6 separate regions of the Homo sapiens genome follow, and all the other regions are linked to region 1. The links are contacts of gene promoters, found by promoter capture Hi-C in human tissues and cell types (Jung and others, 2019). All regions are on one chromosome and are shown on one strand. Each heading gives the region's core, a stretch centred on a gene start or on the middle of the fragment in contact. The rest is flanking DNA. Distances are from core to core; before and after follow the strand shown.

What was found. Contacts are between HindIII fragments. The study calls those that stand out against the background at their distance.
Region 2: a fragment that was not itself captured here is called in contact with the fragment with the promoter of POMK in region 1 in 2 of the 25 tissues and cell types used here (lymphoblastoid cells and mesenchymal stem cells).
Region 3: a contact is called between a fragment that was not itself captured here and the fragment with the promoter of POMK in region 1, in 1 of the 25 tissues and cell types used here (spleen).
Region 4: a contact is called between a fragment that was not itself captured here and the fragment with the promoter of POMK in region 1, in 1 of the 25 tissues and cell types used here (hippocampus).
Region 5: a fragment that was not itself captured here is called in contact with the fragment with the promoter of POMK in region 1 in 1 of the 25 tissues and cell types used here (lymphoblastoid cells).
Region 6: a contact is called between a fragment that was not itself captured here and the fragment with the promoter of POMK in region 1, in 2 of the 25 tissues and cell types used here (aorta and mesendoderm cells).

The regions. Positions count from the first base shown.
Region 1 is chr8:43,092,099-43,094,980 of GRCh38, reverse strand. POMK (protein O-mannose kinase) reads right to left here and starts at 1,466. Exons shown (of 5, transcript NM_032237.5): 1 at 1,418-1,466. RefSeq lists a silencer at 1,229-1,438 and enhancers at 690-1,595, 1,596-2,502. The HindIII fragment of the contact is 5,704 bases long and covers 1-2,882 here.
Region 2 is chr8:43,335,647-43,338,528 of GRCh38, reverse strand. All of the region lies in intron 9 of POTEA (POTE ankyrin domain family member A (gene/pseudogene)), which reads right to left. Among named protein-coding and RNA genes, the nearest start is that of POTEA, 45 kb to the right of the region's middle. The HindIII fragment of the contact is 4,537 bases long and covers 1-2,882 here.
Region 3 is chr8:42,848,882-42,851,763 of GRCh38, reverse strand. It overlaps a transcript of RNF170 not described here. Among named protein-coding and RNA genes, the nearest start is that of THAP1, 7.0 kb to the right of the region's middle. The HindIII fragment of the contact is 4,868 bases long and covers 1-2,882 here.
Region 4 is chr8:42,885,955-42,888,836 of GRCh38, reverse strand. RNF170 (ring finger protein 170) reads left to right here. Exons shown (of 7, transcript NM_030954.4): 2 at 966-1,109. The coding sequence starts at 973. Among named protein-coding and RNA genes, the nearest start is that of MIR4469, 8.9 kb to the left of the region's middle. The HindIII fragment of the contact is 7,579 bases long and covers 1-2,882 here.
Region 5 is chr8:43,254,094-43,256,975 of GRCh38, reverse strand. It overlaps the pseudogene AFG3L2P1. Among named protein-coding and RNA genes, the nearest start is that of POTEA, 37 kb to the left of the region's middle. The HindIII fragment of the contact is 6,739 bases long and covers 1-2,882 here.
Region 6 is chr8:42,961,175-42,964,056 of GRCh38, reverse strand. All of the region lies in intron 8 of HOOK3 (hook microtubule tethering protein 3), which reads right to left. Among named protein-coding and RNA genes, the nearest start is that of HOOK3, 66 kb to the right of the region's middle. The HindIII fragment of the contact is 8,862 bases long and covers 1-2,882 here.

The sequences.
Region 1 (2,882 bases), core at 217-2,716:
CTGTGTGGCTAAAGGAACTTTCGTGTCCAGAAGTAAGCAAAAACCACTGAAATTTACTGGTCCTGAAAACAGCCTGCACATTAAGGAATAAAGATGGTGGGGCAGGTTGGGCAGAAGAAATTCAGGCACGACTGAAATGCAAAGCATTTCTGACACTGATAGGAAGGCTTATTGATAGAGAAAGGCTTGGGACCCACTGCTCCACATTTACAGCTTAAAAAGAAAAGAAAAGCAAAGGGACAAAACTAGTTTTTACCGACTTACAAGATATTTTCTACAACTAGGGAAGACACAGAGTAATGTCATCCAATACAGTTTAGAGTAGAATTCCATTGCGCCAATAAAGCACAAGGTACATTAAGAGGATTATTTTAAATATTCTGAACGCTTATTTAGCCTTAAGGTTCTATAGCAAAGGCAAAGGGTGGCAAAGACAAGATTATGCAACAAAACAGCGAAATTTTGCTTTCTAAAAAAAAGAGAATATGATTACACTTAACACCTCCTGGCAACAATGATCTCGTGCAGAATAAACACCCAAAGGCAAAGAGCTGAGACAGAGTCCTCGGTCCTTTCTGGTTTTTTTGTTTTTTGTTTTGTTTTGGTTTGGTTTGGTTTTTGTTTTTTTAAACAGAGACAGCCTCTGCCGGACCCAGTAGCTCACGCCTGTAATCCCAGCACTTTGGGAGGCAGAGGCGGGCGGATCACCTGAGGTCAGGCGTTCGAGACCAGCCTGACCAACATGGGGAAACCCCGTTTCTACTAAAAATACAAAAATTAGCCGGGCGTGGTGGCGGACGCCTGTAATCCCAGGAGCCAAGACCGCGCCACTACACTCCAGCCTGGGCGACAGAGCGAGACTCCGTCTCAAATAATAATAATAATGATAAAGTAATAATAATAGAAACAGCCTCTCACTCTGGCCCCCAGGCTGAAGTGCAGTGGCGCGATTTCGGCTCACTGAAACCTCCGCCCCCGCCGGGTTCAAGCATTCTCCCGCCTCAGCCTCCGGAGTAGATAAGACTATAGGCGGCGCCACCGCGCCCGGCTAAGTGCTTTTTTACGGAGACAGAAGTTCCGCCATGTTGCCCAGGCTGCTCTCGCCTGAGCTCACGCGATCCTCCCGCCTCGGCCTCCCAAAGCGCTGGGATTACAGGCTGGAGCCACCTCGCCGGGCCCTTCTCTGGTTCTTTAACGTCCCGCTACCGCGCAGGGGTGGACGCGGAGATAGGGGCTGGGCGCGGTGGACACGGCCGCTCAGGCCCAGCGCAGCCTCCTAGGGAGCCTCCGGACAGGCCGCGGGCAGGCGGCCGGGGCTGCGGGGGGTGCGGCCCAGGCCACGTACAGGGTCCCCCGGGAAACCCAGCTGCACGCCCCCTCGCCCCTTCGCCCTCTCACCCCTCGCCGCAGCACCTACCTGCAGCCCAAGCCTCTGCGGCTCCTGCCACCCCGGGCCAGCACGCACTGGGCCTACTGCGCTTGCGCGTTCGGAAGCGCGTCCTGGGCGGGTGAGCGTGGCGCTGCTGCCCCCTGGCGTCCTCCTCCGGCCGTGCACTGAAGCCGGAGCGAACGCCGCGGCGGTACCAGCGCGCACCTACCCAGTCTCCCTGTCTGGCTTCTGCTTCCCTAACTTGGGAGAACGATTTTGTGTTGACCGACTATTGCTTCAGCCTGGAGCCAGGCTCATGCAGAGCAGCTGTCAGATCTAGACGCACTGCGAGGCCTTCCAAAGCGTAGTCCTCAGACCCGCGGCATCTGCAGGGACCTTGCTGGAAAGGCTGATTCCCAGCTCCGGCCCAGACCCGCCACTCGGGGACCCAGATGCCTGAAGTTGGACAATCGCTCTGTAAAAGAAACTGTGGGGCTTAGCCTAGACGCAGTAAAGCTGAGCTGCACACATCAAGCGCAGCAGACAAGACCTTGGCAAGCCTCCGCGGAGGGGCAGGACTGGGCAAAGGCGGGGAAGTCCGTCGAGGGCCGGCCAGGAGCCCTGCCGGGAGCCCAACACGCACTCGGGCGCTTGCTCCGGGAAACCGAAAGGGAGGCTTGCAGCATCGAAGTCAGCTGGGTCATGGAACGTCTAGGTTGTGTACATCGGAAGCGTTAGCTGCTTCTACACTGACACACTGCGAAAGTCCAGAATCAAGACAGTAACATGGTGTGGGTTAAAAAAACTGAGCCGGTACTAGCTATCCAAACAGTATTAAAATTAACAGAAACGTTTGCCTATCACATGGACAAACAGCGGTAATACCTCCTGTCGTTACAGTAGAGTCTGAAAGTTTCCTCACACATACAAGTGAGTGTAAATTGGAATTCCTCCTACGTGCCCTAGCAAATCCATTTCTAGGAATTTATCCTTCAGAAATAACGTCTGTGGCCGGGCGCCGTGGCTCATGCCTGTAATCCCAGGACTTTGGGAGGCCGAGGTGGGCGGATCACGAGGTCAGGAGACCGAGACCATCCTGGATAACACGGTGAAACCCCGTCTCTACTAAAAATACAAAAAATTAGCCGGGCATGGTGGCGGGCGTGAGAATGGCGTGAACCCGGGAGGCGGAGCTTGCAGTGAGCCGAGATCGCGCCACTGTACTCCAGCCTGGGTGACAGAGCGAGACTCCGTCTCAAAAAAAAAAAAAAAAAAAAAGAAAAAGAAATAATATGTCTGCAAGATGTATGCACAAGAGATCTTGCTGAAGCATTGCTGATAAAAGATATTTATAATAGAGAAAAAAAGAAACCTGAATGTATAACAATAGGGGTTTCTGAAAGAAATTATATTACATCCACATAGCCATGAAAAATACTAACGGGTGCACAGTTTCAGTGTGAGAAGATGGTAAAGTCCTGGAGATGGATGGGGGTGATGGTTGCACAACAGT
Region 2 (2,882 bases), core at 284-2,783, 240 kb before region 1:
TAAAACTCCAACTGTTTTCCATCTCATTGCACTGATTAATTTTTTAAATGTTTAGAACTACAAACAACATAAAAGGAAATGTGCATCCCCTGCTTCAAAAACAAGGTAATATACAATTATAATACATTGTGTTCTGTAAGAGTTGATATATTAAAAAGTTATATTTTAGCACAAGGAAGGCTTTAGAGAAGAGGCAAAATATAAGAAGGGCCCACTAGGGAAAAACAGTGAGAGAAAATCCTTCCAGTTAGAGAACAGAATGTGAGCACAAAGATTAAGCACATGAAGTCTAGATGCTTACTAAGAACTTGAAAGGAAAAGTGTAAAATACTTGGAAGCTAAGAATAGGAGATGAATCTACACTACACTTGAATGCTATATTAAAAAGCTGGAGTCCACTGAATATGAGAAATGACTGTTAAACATGAAAATCACAATTAGATTTGGGCTATATTTCTGTTTCTATTATTCAATATAATAATGTTTACCTTTAAATACAATTTCAAAAGTAGCTGTGGCACATAAAACATGAAAGACGAAATCAGGAAAATGTCTTCAGGGAGGGTGTATTAGTCCATTTTCACACTGCTATAAAGAAATACTGAAGACTGGGTAATTCATAAAGGCTAAGTTTCTCCTTGGTCCCTTTTAGCCACAGTTGGACCTGTAGTGGCTGAATGCAGGGCAGCAAGTCCTGAGGCTGCACACAGTACCAGGGCCCTGGACCCAAACCTATGAAACCATTTTTTCCTTCCAGGACTCTGGGCCTGTGATGCGAGTGGCTGCCACGAAGATCTCTGTCATGCCCTAAAGACACTTTCTCCATTTCATGGCAATTAACATTCCGCTCCTCGTTATTTATGCAAATTTCTGCAGCCAACTTGCATTCGTCCATAGAAAATGTGTTGTTTCTCTTTTCTACCAAATGGTCAGGCTACAAATTTTCCAAATTTATGCTCTGCTTCCCTTTTAAACATAAGCCCCAGCTTAAAACCATCTCTTTGTGAATGCATAAAACTGAATGCTTTCAGAATCAACCAGGTCACCTCTTGAATGCCTTGCTGCTTAGAAATTTCTTCTACCAGATAGCCTAAATCATCTCTCTCAAGTTCAAAGTTTTACAGATTGCTAGTGCAGGGGCAAAATGCTGTCAGTCTCTTTGCTAAAGCATATCAAGAGTCACCTTTGTTCCAGTCCCCAACAAGTTCCTTATCTCCACCTAAGATCACCTCAGCCTGGACTTCATTGGCCATATCACTATCAGCATTTTGGTAAAAAAAACTATTCAACAAGTCTGTAGGAAGTTCCAAACTTTCCCACATCTTCCTGTCTTCTTTTGAGCCCTCCAAACTGTTAAAACCTCTGTTACTCAGTTCCAAAGTCACTTCCACCTTTTCACATTATCTTTTTAACAATACCCCACTATCCCTGGTACCAATTCTCTGTATTAGTCCATTTTCACACTGCTACAAAGAAATATCTGAGATGGGGTAATTCATAAAGGAAAGAAGCTTAATTGATTCACAGTTACACATGGCTGGGGAGGCCTCAGAAAACTTACAATCATGGTAAGGTGAAGGGGAAGCAGACACCTTCTTCATAAGGTGGCAGGAGAGAGAGAAGTGAAGGGGATAGAGCCCTTTAAGAAACCATCAGCTCTTGTGAAAACTCATTCACTATCATGAGAACAGCATGGGGGAAACCAACCCTATGATCTAATCACCTCCCACCAGGTCTTTCTCACAACACCTGGGAATCACAATTTGACATGAGATTTGGGTGGGGACACAAAGCCAACCTACATCGGGGGCTATCCTTACTTTTAAAATATCTAAATGTCATTATTTATATTTCAAAAATAGCAATTTTTGATTAGTTATGATTTTGTTTGAAAATAAAACAATCTGGTAAATGTTCTTCACTTTTAGCCTCCTATTTAGTCAAAATATAAAAAGCTGGATTTGCCAGCAGAAAATTGTAATTACTTTTTAATGAGGTAAACATGCACAAGAATATCACTATTATTGTACAAAGAAGAAAGTGAACAAGAAAAGGAATTTAAAAAGAGAGAATATCACTATCATACACATCCATGAACTGACAAAGAGATTAAAATCTCCCATTGGAGTTTATGTTAGGACTTGAGCAAAAGCTTCTAAAAACACTGAAAACAAAAACAAAACCATTATTTTTAAGAAATAAATTATACAGAGAACTCTTCTGGTTAAGACAAGACTATGTAGCAAAAAAAAAAAAAAAAAAAGGTCTTCCTGAGAGCTATTATTAACCAATTCATCTTGAAAAAACTTTAAAATTAAGTATGCAATTCTGGAATATAAAATAGTTTCATTTTGAAAATAGTTAATGGAAGGCAACCTTTAAACAGCACAAACTTAGAAAAGAACTGACCTGTAGCCATGATAACAAGAAGCCACCCAGGGCAAGTTCTAAATCTAGTCAATCGATCAATGACCGCTGCCCTTGCTTGCCCACCAATATCAATGTGAGCAGCTTGCTTCTGAAAGACAGCCAAGCAGCAGCAGCTGCTCCATCAGAGCAGACAGTGCCTGATCAGTACACCTCTTATACAGCAAGCAAAAAATTCCAACTCTGTTTTTTTATTTCAAATACTGAAGTTTCATAATCCGTTGGAAAGAATTTGTAAGTCCATTAAATTTACCACCCTAATATTTTTCAGATAAAATACCAGTAAAGTTTGCAATTCCTCTGATGCATTTTACCATAATTAAAATTATCATGATTACCAGTAAAATAATAAATGGTGAATAACCACAATATTGGGATTTTCTCCCTAAATGAAAAAATATTAAGAATGTAGCTTATTATAAAGAGCCAAAAGAATTTATGCATATAATTACCAG
Region 3 (2,882 bases), core at 221-2,720, 240 kb after region 1:
CCAGAGCTGAAGTGGGAGGATCACTTGGGCCCAGAAGTGAAGGCTGTGGTGAGCCTTGTGGGTTGCACCACTGCAGTCCAGCCTGAGTGACAGGAGATCCCATCTCAAAATGCTCAAGCCAGAGGTGCAAGCTTAATTCGGTGTTAATATCTGAATCCTTCTCTTGTTCTTTCTTTTTCTTTCTTTTTTTTTTTTTTTTGAGACGGAGTCTCACTCTGTCACCCAGGCTGGAGTGCAATGGCACAATCTCGGCTCACTGCAACCTCCGCTTCCTGGGCTCAAGCGATTCTCCTGCCTCAGTCTCCCGAGTAGCTGGGACTACAGATGCCCACCACCACACCCAACTAATTTTTCTATTTTTAGTAGAGACAGGGTTTCTACTAAACCCTGGCCAGGCTGGTCTGGAACTCCTGATCTCAGGTAATCCGCCAGTCCCGGCCTCCCAAATTGCTGAGATTACAGGTGTGAGCCACTGCACCCAGCCTCCTCTCTTACTCTTATAACCATCTATCAACAAGCCCTGGCATTTCTACCATTGACATGTCGAATCCTATCACTCTATACCCTCTGCCACCACCGCAGTCCAAGGAGAGTTCTGTGTGTCCAGGAGCCCAATGGGGGCTGTGGTGGTAGAGCCCAGGGAGCTGGAAGGAGGGCATGAAGTGAGGTTGAAGAAGCAGGAAGGCTGTTGATTTGGATTTACGTGCAGTGGGAAGACATGATCTAACAAACATTTTTAAAAGGTCATTCTGACTACCGTGTGTAGGGTTCATCAGAGAAGAGCAGCCGTGCAAGTGAGCAGACCCATCAAGAGGCTGTTGCATGCCTGGACACACAGAACTCTCCTGCCTGTACAGTCGGATGCAGGTCAGGGCCTCAGCATATACCCCATGACCGAATGCTCCCTTCAGCCTCACCACGTTTATGCTTCACGTTACTAGACTGTGTTTCCATCCTTTGGTTCTCAGGTTAAATGTTCCCTCCTCACTCAGACTACCCAAAAGTAGGCAGTGCAAAAGTAGTGCAAAAGTAGGCAGTGACCCTCCCCTCCCCTTACCCCAGGGCACTCTGAGGCATTCAGACATCTCAGCACAGCATCATCATATTGACATTTCCATTGTCTGTCTGCTTCTCACTAGAACACAAGCTCTATGAAAACAGAGACAATGTTAGTTTTGTCCACCCAGATATTCACAGATGTACCATTATGCCTGCCACCACAGTAGTGCTCAACACATTAAAGATTAATAAATAAAGCAAGGGAAAGACAGGAAAGGGCAGAAGACAAGGAAAGATCACTTCTTACTCAGTCATGGCTGCCGCCCAGGTCTAAGCCACCCTCACTTCTCACCTAAAGGATCACAGCGACCTTCCAGGCAGTCTCCCAGGCACCAAGTGCCTGGCTCCCTACATGCAACGCAGCCCGATGATCATCTCAAGTGTGACTCTGCTGGAAAGCCTGCTCTCCCTTTCCCACAGAGTAAAGGTAAAGTCCTCACGCCAGCCTGCAAGGCCCCATGTGACCTTGGTTGCTCATTTCCTCTCTAACCTCATCTCACATTTGTCCCCACAGCTCACTCTGCTCCAGCCATCCAGCCCTCCTTGCTGTCCTTTGAGCAGGCTGAAGACGCCCAGCCTCAGGAGCTCTGCCCTGGCCAGTCCCTCTGACTGCTAGGCTCCTCCGCCGGGCATCCTCACAGCCAACTCTCACCAACTCCAGATCTTCGCACAATAGCCATTTCCTCTGTTAGGCCTGTCCTGTCCACCATAAGGAAACTTGCAACTCCCTCAGCCCACAGAGCACCTCTCACCGGCTAACATACTCTGTGGTCACGTGTTTGCTATCTGCCTCCCTAATGTCTTTGAGAACATTAGCTCCCTGAGGGCAGAAATCTCCTTCACTGACATATCCCAAGCCCCCAGAACTATGCGTGCAGCATAGTCAGTAACTATTTGTTGAATCAATGAATGAGAAAACAATATCAGGGAACTCTAAGTTGAAATACACTTTCTCAGTTCACAATGTTATCCATTCTGACCTTTATCAGACACAGGCACAGAGGACCTCAGAGATATTCCCAGCAGTCTCAATATCCATGGTAATGCTAATAAACTACTATTCTGGCATTTTGGTAATGGCAGACCTCATTTTATTGTAATTTGCTTTATTGATTTTTGCAGATATTGTACTTTTTACAAATTGAATGTTTGTGGCATCGCGGCTTCGAGCAAGTCCATTGGCACCATTTTTCCAGCAGCACGTACTCAAGTCATGTCTCTGTCACATTTTGGTAATTCTCGCAATATTGCAAACTTTCTCATTATTATTATAGCTGTTATGGTGATCCGTGATCAGTGATCTTTAATGTTACTACTGATCTTTGTTTTGGAGTGCTACAAACCGCACCCACTTATGGTGAGCTTAATTGATACAAGTTGTATGTGTTCTCACTCACCACTGACTGGCCATTCCCTAGTCTCTCTCGCTCTCCTTGGGCCTCCCTATTGCCTGAGACACAACAACATTGAAATTAGGCCAATTAGTAACCATACCAATGCCCACTAAGTCCTTGCTAAGATTCTTACTTTCAATCATAAGGTAGAAATGATCAAGTGTAGTGAGGAAGGCATGTTGAAAGGCACGACAGGCTGAGAGCTAGGCCTCTTGTGCCAAACAGCCAAGTTGTGAATGTAAAGGAAAAAAAATTTTTTTTTTGAGACAGAGTCTCACTCTGTCGCCCAGGCTGGAGTGCAGTGGCGCTATCTTGGCTCACTGCAACCTCCGCCTCCCGGGTTCATGCCATTCTCCTGCCTCAGCCTCCTGAGTAGCTGGAACTACAGGTGCCCACCACCATGCCCAGCTAATTTTTTGGGTTTTTTTT
Region 4 (2,882 bases), core at 167-2,666, 210 kb after region 1:
AAGAAGAGAGCAGTTGGATAAGAATGGCTTTTATTTATTTATTGTTTTTGGTTGGGGGGTGGGGAGGTTGGGGGGCGGGGGACAGGGTCTTGCTCTGTCTCCCAGGCTGGAGTACAGTGGCGCTCTCTGGGCCTCACTACAACCTCTGCCTCCCAGGTTCAAGCGATTCTCCTGCCTTAGCCTCCAGAGTAGCTGACATTACAGGCACACGTCACCCGGCTAAATTTTGTATTTTTAGTAGAGACGGGGTTTCACCATGTTGACCAGGCTGGTCTCGAACTTCTGACCTCAGGTGATCCGCCTGCCTCAGCCTCCCATAATGCTGGGATTACAGGCGTGAGCCACTGCATCTGGCCCAAGAATGGCTTTTTTTTTTTAAAGGGGTTAAGCTTGAAGAGGAAAAAACATTTTTAAAAAATACATAAATAAATGATAAATTATAGTAATTGTTTTCCTTAAAAGAAATAGAATTTGGCTGGGTGCAGTGGCTCATGCCTGTAATCCCGGCACTTTGGGAGGCCGAGGCAGGTGGATCACGAGGTCAGGAGATCAAGACCATCCTGGCTAACACGGTGAAACCCTGTCTCTACTAAAATACAAAAAATTAGCCAGGCGTAGTGGTGCGCGCCTGTAGTCCCAGCTACTTGGGAGGCTGAGGGAGGGGAATTGCTTGAACCCGGGAGGCGGACGTTGCAGTGAGCTGAGATCCGCATCACTGCACTCCAGCCTGGCAACAGAGCAAGAGACTCCATCCAAAAAAAATAGAAATAGAATTTTGTTCTCCACAAAATAATGTGTCTGGCAAATTTTAAAGAACTCCATCAGTCCCCACTGGAGTTGTACTTAATTGCAGCCTATCAGAAACCAAATATATTAGAAGTCAGTTATATTTACATTGCTTTTATTAGTATATTTCATTTTCACTGTGTCATTTGTAACTCTCATCTTGTTTCTTCTTATTTTAGACCTGGAATGGCCAAATATCAAGGTGAAGTTCAAAGTTTGAAACTGGATGATGATTCAGTTATAGAAGGAGTAAGCGACCAAGTACTTGTGGCAGTTGTGGTCAGTTTCGCTTTGATTGCTACCCTGGTATATGCACTTTTCAGGTGAGATTTAAGGACAAAAGAATTGAGTAGATTTGCAAGGGCTGCTGACTTTTTGACCCCTAATAATGTATAATACTTAATATGAACAGCAAGTAACAGATCTCAGTGATTGTAGATGTTTACTAAGGTATTTTATTTTCCACGGGGCTTTGAATGCTAACATATATTTCCTGTCATCAGCTGTCTTACCAAATAATAATTAAATTTATCATCCACATTTTGAATAAAATATTAGTACTTTCTATTGGCGTATGGCAATTTAAAAAACTTTAATTTCCATAATTAAATCCATCAACTTGTAGGTGATATAGATGATAAGTGCAAAATACTTTCAGTTTTAAATGGAAAAATTGAGGCAAAAAAAGACTTGTATAGTAAAAAGGGAACTAATATTAGAATTAATTTTTTTACTTATTTATTTATTTATTTATTTTTTGAGACGGAGTCTCAATGTGTCGTCCAGGCTGGAGTGCCATGGCACTGTCTCAGCTCACCACAACCTCTGCCTCTGGGGTTCAAGCGATTCTCCTGCCTCAGCCTCCCAAATAGCTGGGATTACAGGCACATGCCACCATGCCCGGCTTATTTTATATTTTTAGTAGAGATGGGGTTTCTCCATGTTGATCAGGCTGGTCTCAAACTCCTGACCTGAGGTGATCCACCTGCGTCAGCCTCCCAAAGTGCTGGGATTACAGGCTTGAGCCACTGCACCTGGCCCTAATTTTTTGTATTTTTTTGTAGAGACAGGATTTCGCTAGGTTGGCCAGGCTGGTCTCAAACTCCTGACCTCAAGTGAACCACCCGACTCAGCCTCCCAAAGTGCTGGGATTACACTCATGAGCCACTATGCCCAGCCTATTTATTTATTTTAGAGACAGGGTCTCGCTACATTGCCCCAGTTGGACTTGAACTCCTGGACTCAAGCAGTCCTCCCATCCCAGCTTCCCAGGTTGCTGGGACTACAGGTATGCACCACTGCACCTGATTCTAAAATTAATTTAGGCTGGATGTGGTGGCTCACGCCGGTAATCCCAGCACCTTGGGAGGCTGAGGCAGGCGGATCACCTGAGGTCAGGAGTTCGAGACTAGCCTGGCCAACATGGTGAAACCCTCGTCTCTACTAAAAATACAAAAATTAGCTGGGCATGGTGGCAGGTGCCTATAATCCCAGCTACTTGGGCGGCTGAGGCGTGAGAATCACTTGAACTTGGGAGGCAGAGGTTGCAGTGATCCAAGATAGTCTCTTATTAGGGTAACATTATCTTGATTTCAATCGGGTATTTTATAGAGTGATAATCCAGAGTGATTGATACTGGTGATACACTGTGGATATCATGGGGGAAATAATGACTAGATGATAGCAGAGTTAAGTGAACTCCACTAAGCAGGTTGTTCTTAGGATTCCTGACTAATGTTTTAATATACACCAAATAGAAGGACATTGTATATTGCTGCAGGGCTCTGTCCTTGGGCCTTTTCTATTATTATTATTATTTTTTTTTTTGAGACCGAGTCTCACTCTGTTGCCCAGGCTGGAGTGCAGTGGCGTGATCTCGGCTCACTGCAAGCTCCACTTCCCGGGTTCACGCCATTCTCCTGCCTCAGCCTCCTGAGTAGCTGGGACTACAGGTGCCCACCACCACGCCCGGCTAATTTTTTGTATTTTTAGTAGAGACGGGGTTTCACCGTGTTAGCCAGGATGGTCTCGAACTCCTGACCTCAGTTGATTCGCCCACCTCGGCCTCCCAAAATCGGGGGGTTACAGGCGTGAGC
Region 5 (2,882 bases), core at 174-2,673, 160 kb before region 1:
GTTCTATGACCCAGCAATTCCATTCTGAGAAATATGCCCTAAAAATGTGTACATGTTTCCAAAAAATGTTAAATATTATTATTGCAGCACAATTAGCATCAACCCTACTCCAGAAACTCCTCAAAGGTCTGTAAATAGGAAAATGGATAAACAAAGTATCTATATTCACATGGACTGCAATAAAGCTATGAAAATGAATGACCTGTAACTATTCATAACAACATGAATGAATTTCACAAAAAATCATTTGTAAAAAGAAGGCACAAAAGAAAACTTACTGTATCACCCCACTTGTGAGAAACTCAAAGCCTGAGAAATCCAATCTAGAAATCTAATTAGAAGTTAGGATGTAGCTATGGAGAGACACGGCGATGAGTTGGGTGGGGAGGCTCAGTGCTGTTTCTTAATCTGTGCTGCTTTCACAGGTGCCTAACTCTGTAAAAGCTCTTTGAGCTGCACCCTTGTAATCAGGCATTTTTCTGTATTTAGATTTTGCTTTAAGTTCACTTTAGAAAATAATTATATTTTTAAAAGTAAGATAATTTAAAATTATCTTGGCCTCTGCTTTCTGCTATGAGCAGAAATCTACAATCTACAAATCTACAAGAGAAGATTCGTTTTATAAACTTGGTATTTATAAATTATAAAAAGATTTACATTTACTTCCATTTTGGACACTCTGAAGTGCTCTTTTCCATCAGTATATTTTAATCAAATATAATTCAATAATACACTGTTCAGTATTCCTGGAGAATGAAAACAGGGAGATACTACCTTCTCATAAACTGTCTAGCTGGTCAACCCCAAGGTATTCTCTCTCAGACATGAGAGAGAGTAAGAGAGACAGAGAATATACAAGCTCCTACCATGTGTTCTCTTCTGTAATATTCAAATCAAAGTTTGATTTGATTTGATCTAAGCCTTATTAAGTGGAATGGTGCTGACTGAGCAAATTCAGAGCAGAATGTGAAGGAAAAGTATTATAATGATATACATCCTGTTTTAGCCTTGATAAAACATTTCAAATCCGCCACCTGTACAAAATATATTTCTATATTTTAGTTTTTCAATTTGTGGAAGATCTGTATATTCTAGATAGGAAAGCCATCAGCAGGACCAGAGACTTTGAGCTTTGGAGGGCAAGACAAAACATTTTATACAAACGGTTTTCTTAAGCAGATTTTGACAGCTTTCCACTACTCTAAAAGAAATTCTTCCTTTCTTCCATATTTTTTCTTCCTTCCCTTCTTCCTTCCTCACTTTCTTTTTTTCTTCCTTCTTTCCTTTTTTTCTTGTTTTGTTTCTTTCCTGCTTTCTTTAAACAAACTACAGGAACTATTTCAAAATCAGGATGCTACTTTACTCTAAGAAAAATACAAATCCATACTATTAAGTAAGCAGTCTGTAAGTCCTCTCAGTATGTGACCAGAGCAAGGAAAAAAATAGATGAATTTTTCTTAAAAGCTCCATCAAAGTATAAAAACTTCTTAAATCTTCCTGAGGCATCTGAGTCCTCAAGGACTGTTTTTGTCTTTCTTTTCTCTCAAATTGTGGACATCAACTTAGGTAGTCTTTGTCACATTTATTCAAAAGGTTTTTAGAGAATTTTGTCAATAGCACAGGGACATCTAACTTATACATTACAATTACTTTCATAATAATAAACTACCATGTTCACTTTATTTTGTTTGTTCATGTTTTCAAATTTGACATGCAAAAAGCCCAATAGAAAGTGGAGTAAGCAGGGAATGACTGGGGAGAATAAATACTTCTCTATAAAAAATGCCTTATGAAACAATTTATTTAGTAAGCTTCACACATGTAGTTGCCATATGATTTAGTTAAGGTGTTTTCATTTACCAGTGACTAGAAGAATGCTTCAGTTGTAAAATGTTAGCTACATCTGTATTTCACATTTTTATTTTATAATATACATGTATCAGTATCCTCATTGTGTATAGGCCAATGAAAATACTTCTCAGAGGTACTTGCATGTAGAGCTAGAGCTAGAAATATGACTAGAATTGAAACTGCTTTCTGCTGTCTCCTAGATCATGCCTCCGAGGGTAGTGGGAGGCCTCATCTGCTTTTACTTTGAAAAAAGAAAATCTCTAGATTTTTGTCTATCTTTAGAACAAAATGTACAGAACTCAGCTTTCAACTAAAGAATCAAATGCTAAATTTTTGGCTGAGGGGTTATGCTACTTATATGACAAAATCATACATGTCAAAACTTAACATATTTTAATAAACAACATAACGTAAATTCTGATTCAACAGAAACATTGGAGAGTGGTGATTTTTTTTAATATGTGAAAGTATATGTATTTGTTTCCAAAAATATTTAAAATGACCATGATGGAATAATAAGTTTAAACAGTTTGAGTCAAACAGATAAACTTGCATGCATGAAAGCACATTAAACAGACTTCTTTGGATGGGAATATTTGTTGCAACTCTCAAGGCAAGATATATTTTTATGTCTCTTCTCAGTCATTGCTTCCCTCCCACTGTATTACCATTTTATCATTTAAATAAATGTAATTCGTCTTTAAATGAATACAGAAAAAAGAATCTAGAGCTTATTTCTTTAGCAATTTTCTTTATGCTTATCTGGTTCAGAAGATCACATGGTATATGGCTAAATTAGTTTCCCAGCCCATAAGCCACTTGAAAGACTAATAGTGAGACTTGGGTTGAGTAATCAACAAAGATTACAAGAATATTTCCAGAAGTGTCATTTAGATAGCAGCACTAATTTACTTTGACACATAATTACACATTTAGATAACCACAGTGTAACCATACACATGAGATTTTCTTGAGTAGAAAATCAGAATGAATCAGATAACTTATAAAAAGAGAACAGCAAGTGAACCTCT
Region 6 (2,882 bases), core at 267-2,766, 130 kb after region 1:
TTTTTCTGTTTTTAGTAGAGATGTGGTTTCACCATGTTAGCCAGAATGGTCTTGATCTCTTGACCTCATGATCCGCCTGCCTCGGCCTCCCAAAGTGCTGGGATTACAGGCGTGAGCCACTGCGCCCGGCCATTAAAGCCTATTTTTAAAGAAGTACAATCAATCTCTACTTAAAACATTTACATCATTTTGGAATACTGCACGTGCAGAGCAAGATGTAAGAGTAACAATTCATTCTTATTTCATATTTGAAGAAACACCTCACCAGACAAGATATAGAGATGGCAAAGAAGCACACTAATAAATAATCATTAGTTATCAAGGAAATGCAAATTAAAATCACATTATTATATAACTACACTCCCACTAGAATAAATAAAATTAAAAAGACTGACTGTACCAAATGTTGGCAAAGAAACTTGTGGTGAGAATATAAAATGTTTCAAACATTTTGGAAAATAGTTTAGCAATTTCTTAAAGAATTAAACATGCAACTACCACATGACTGATTTAGCCATCCTACTCCTAGGTATTTACTCAGAGAAATAAAAGCATACGCCCACACGAAGACTTAGGAACAATGTTTATAGCAGCTTCATTTGTAATAGAAGAAAACTGGAAACAATCCAAACGTTTGCCAACAAGCAAATGGATAAATGATTTGCATCCCAAATCCAAAAATCCAAACTCAGAAATGCTTCAAAATCTGAATGTTTCTGAGCACCTACATGACACTCAAAAGAAATGTTCATTGGAGCCATTTCAGCTTTTGGATTTTTGGATTTAGGATGCTCAACCAGTAAGCATATAATGCGAATATCCCCAAATCCAAAAATATCCCGAATTTCATATATGGAATACTCAACCTGTACTACTACTCAGCAATAAGAAAGAATTAACAATTTACAGCTACAACATAGATGAATCTCAAAATAACGTAAGAAGTCAGACAAAAGGCTGGGTGCAGCAGCTCACACCTGTAATCCCAGCACTTTGGGAGGCCGAGGTGGGTGGATCACCTGAGGTCAGGAGTTCGAGACCAGCCTGGCCAACATGGTGAAACCCCATCTCTACTAAAAATACAAAAATTAGCCAGGCGTGGTGGCAAACGCCTGTAATCCCAGCTACTCAGGAGGCTGAGGCAAGAGAATAGCTTGAACCTGGGAGGCAGAAGTTGCAGTGAGCTAAGATCGTGCCATTGCACTCCAGACTGGGGGACAAGAGCGAGACTTTGTCTCAAAAAAAAAAAAAAAAAAAAAAGAAGAAGAAGTCAGACCAAAAAAAGTCAATATATTTGGCAGAACTCCTTTTTACACACAGACAAAAAGAATCTAATTTTCAAAACATAAACATGGCTGGCATGGTGGCTCCTGCCTGTAATCCTAGCACTTTGGGAGACTGAGGGAGGAGGATTACTTGAGCTAGGAGTTGGAGAACAGCCTGGGCAACACAGTGAGACCCTGTCTCCACAAAAAATAAAAAATTAGCTGGGTGTGGTGGTGAATGCCTATGGTCCCCACTACTTGGGAGGCTGAGGCAGGAGGATCACTCGAGTCCAAGAGGTCGAGGCTATAGTGAGCCACGATCACACCACTGCACTCCATCCTGGACGACAAAGCAAGACTCTATTTCAAAAAAAAAAAAAAAAACACACGGGCCAGGTGCAGTGGGTCACGCCTTTAATCCAAGCACTTTGGGAGGCCAAGTTGGTAGGACTGCTTGGGGCCAGGAGTTTTGAGACCAGCCTGGGTAGCATAACAAGACCCCATTTCTACCAAAAAAAAAAAAAAAAAAAGAAATGAAAATTTTAGCCAAGCCTAGTGGTAGGCACCTGTGGCCCCAGCTATTTGGAAGGCTGAGGTGGGAGGATCACTTAAGCCCAGGAAGTTGAGTGCAGCAAGCTGTGATCATGCCACTGCACTTCAGCCTAAATGACACAGCATGACCCTGTCTCAAAAAACAAAACAATGAGCCAGATGAGGTGGCTCACACCTGTAATCCCAGCACTTTGGGAGACGGAGGTGGGCAGATCACCGGAGCTCAGGAGTTTAAGACCAGCCTGGGCAATATGGCAAAACCCCAACTCTACGAAACATAAAAGAATTAGCTGGGTGTGGTGGCATGCGCTTGCAGTCCCTGCTACTCGGGAGGATGAGGTGGGAGGATTGCTTTAGCCCAGGAGGCGGAGGTTGCAGTGAGCCAAGATTGCACCACTGCACTCTAGCCTGGGTGACAGAGTGAGACCCTGTCTCAAAAAACAAAACAAAACATAAACATGATTATTTAAGAAAATAACAAAGCAAAGGGGCTTATAACAAAAACCTAGTTTCCTATGGAGTTTTCCCACTCTCCAGAGAATATTTTTACGGTTCCTAATTTTATTGCTTTTGGTTGTCACTTTACATATCTAAATAATGTTACACAATTATTTCTTGACTTATCAACCTTAGACATTATCTAGTGACTCTCTCCTCTGACATGTTTGATTATAGCAACTTGAGTCATTCCTTCCTACCATAAATATAGTTAATCACTGTTCTCACTTCTTTCATTGATCACCTCTGCAACTTTAAACTACTTACTGATTCATTTCACTCAGTCACCCACCCACTCATTCACTCACTCACCTACTATGTGCTAGGTATGGTTGCAGTTTTCTAAGTGCAAGGGATACAGTGATGAAAAAAGGGAAGTTCTTACTCATGTGTTATATATTCAAAACAAATTATAAGTAAAAACAAATCATTGCACAAGAAAGTAAATTAATAAATACATGTAAAAACCAGAATATAAAGTGCTATGCAGAGTGATATGGTTTGGATATTTATCCCCTCCAAATCTCATGTTGAAATGTAGTCCCAAATGTTGGAGGTGGGGCCTGG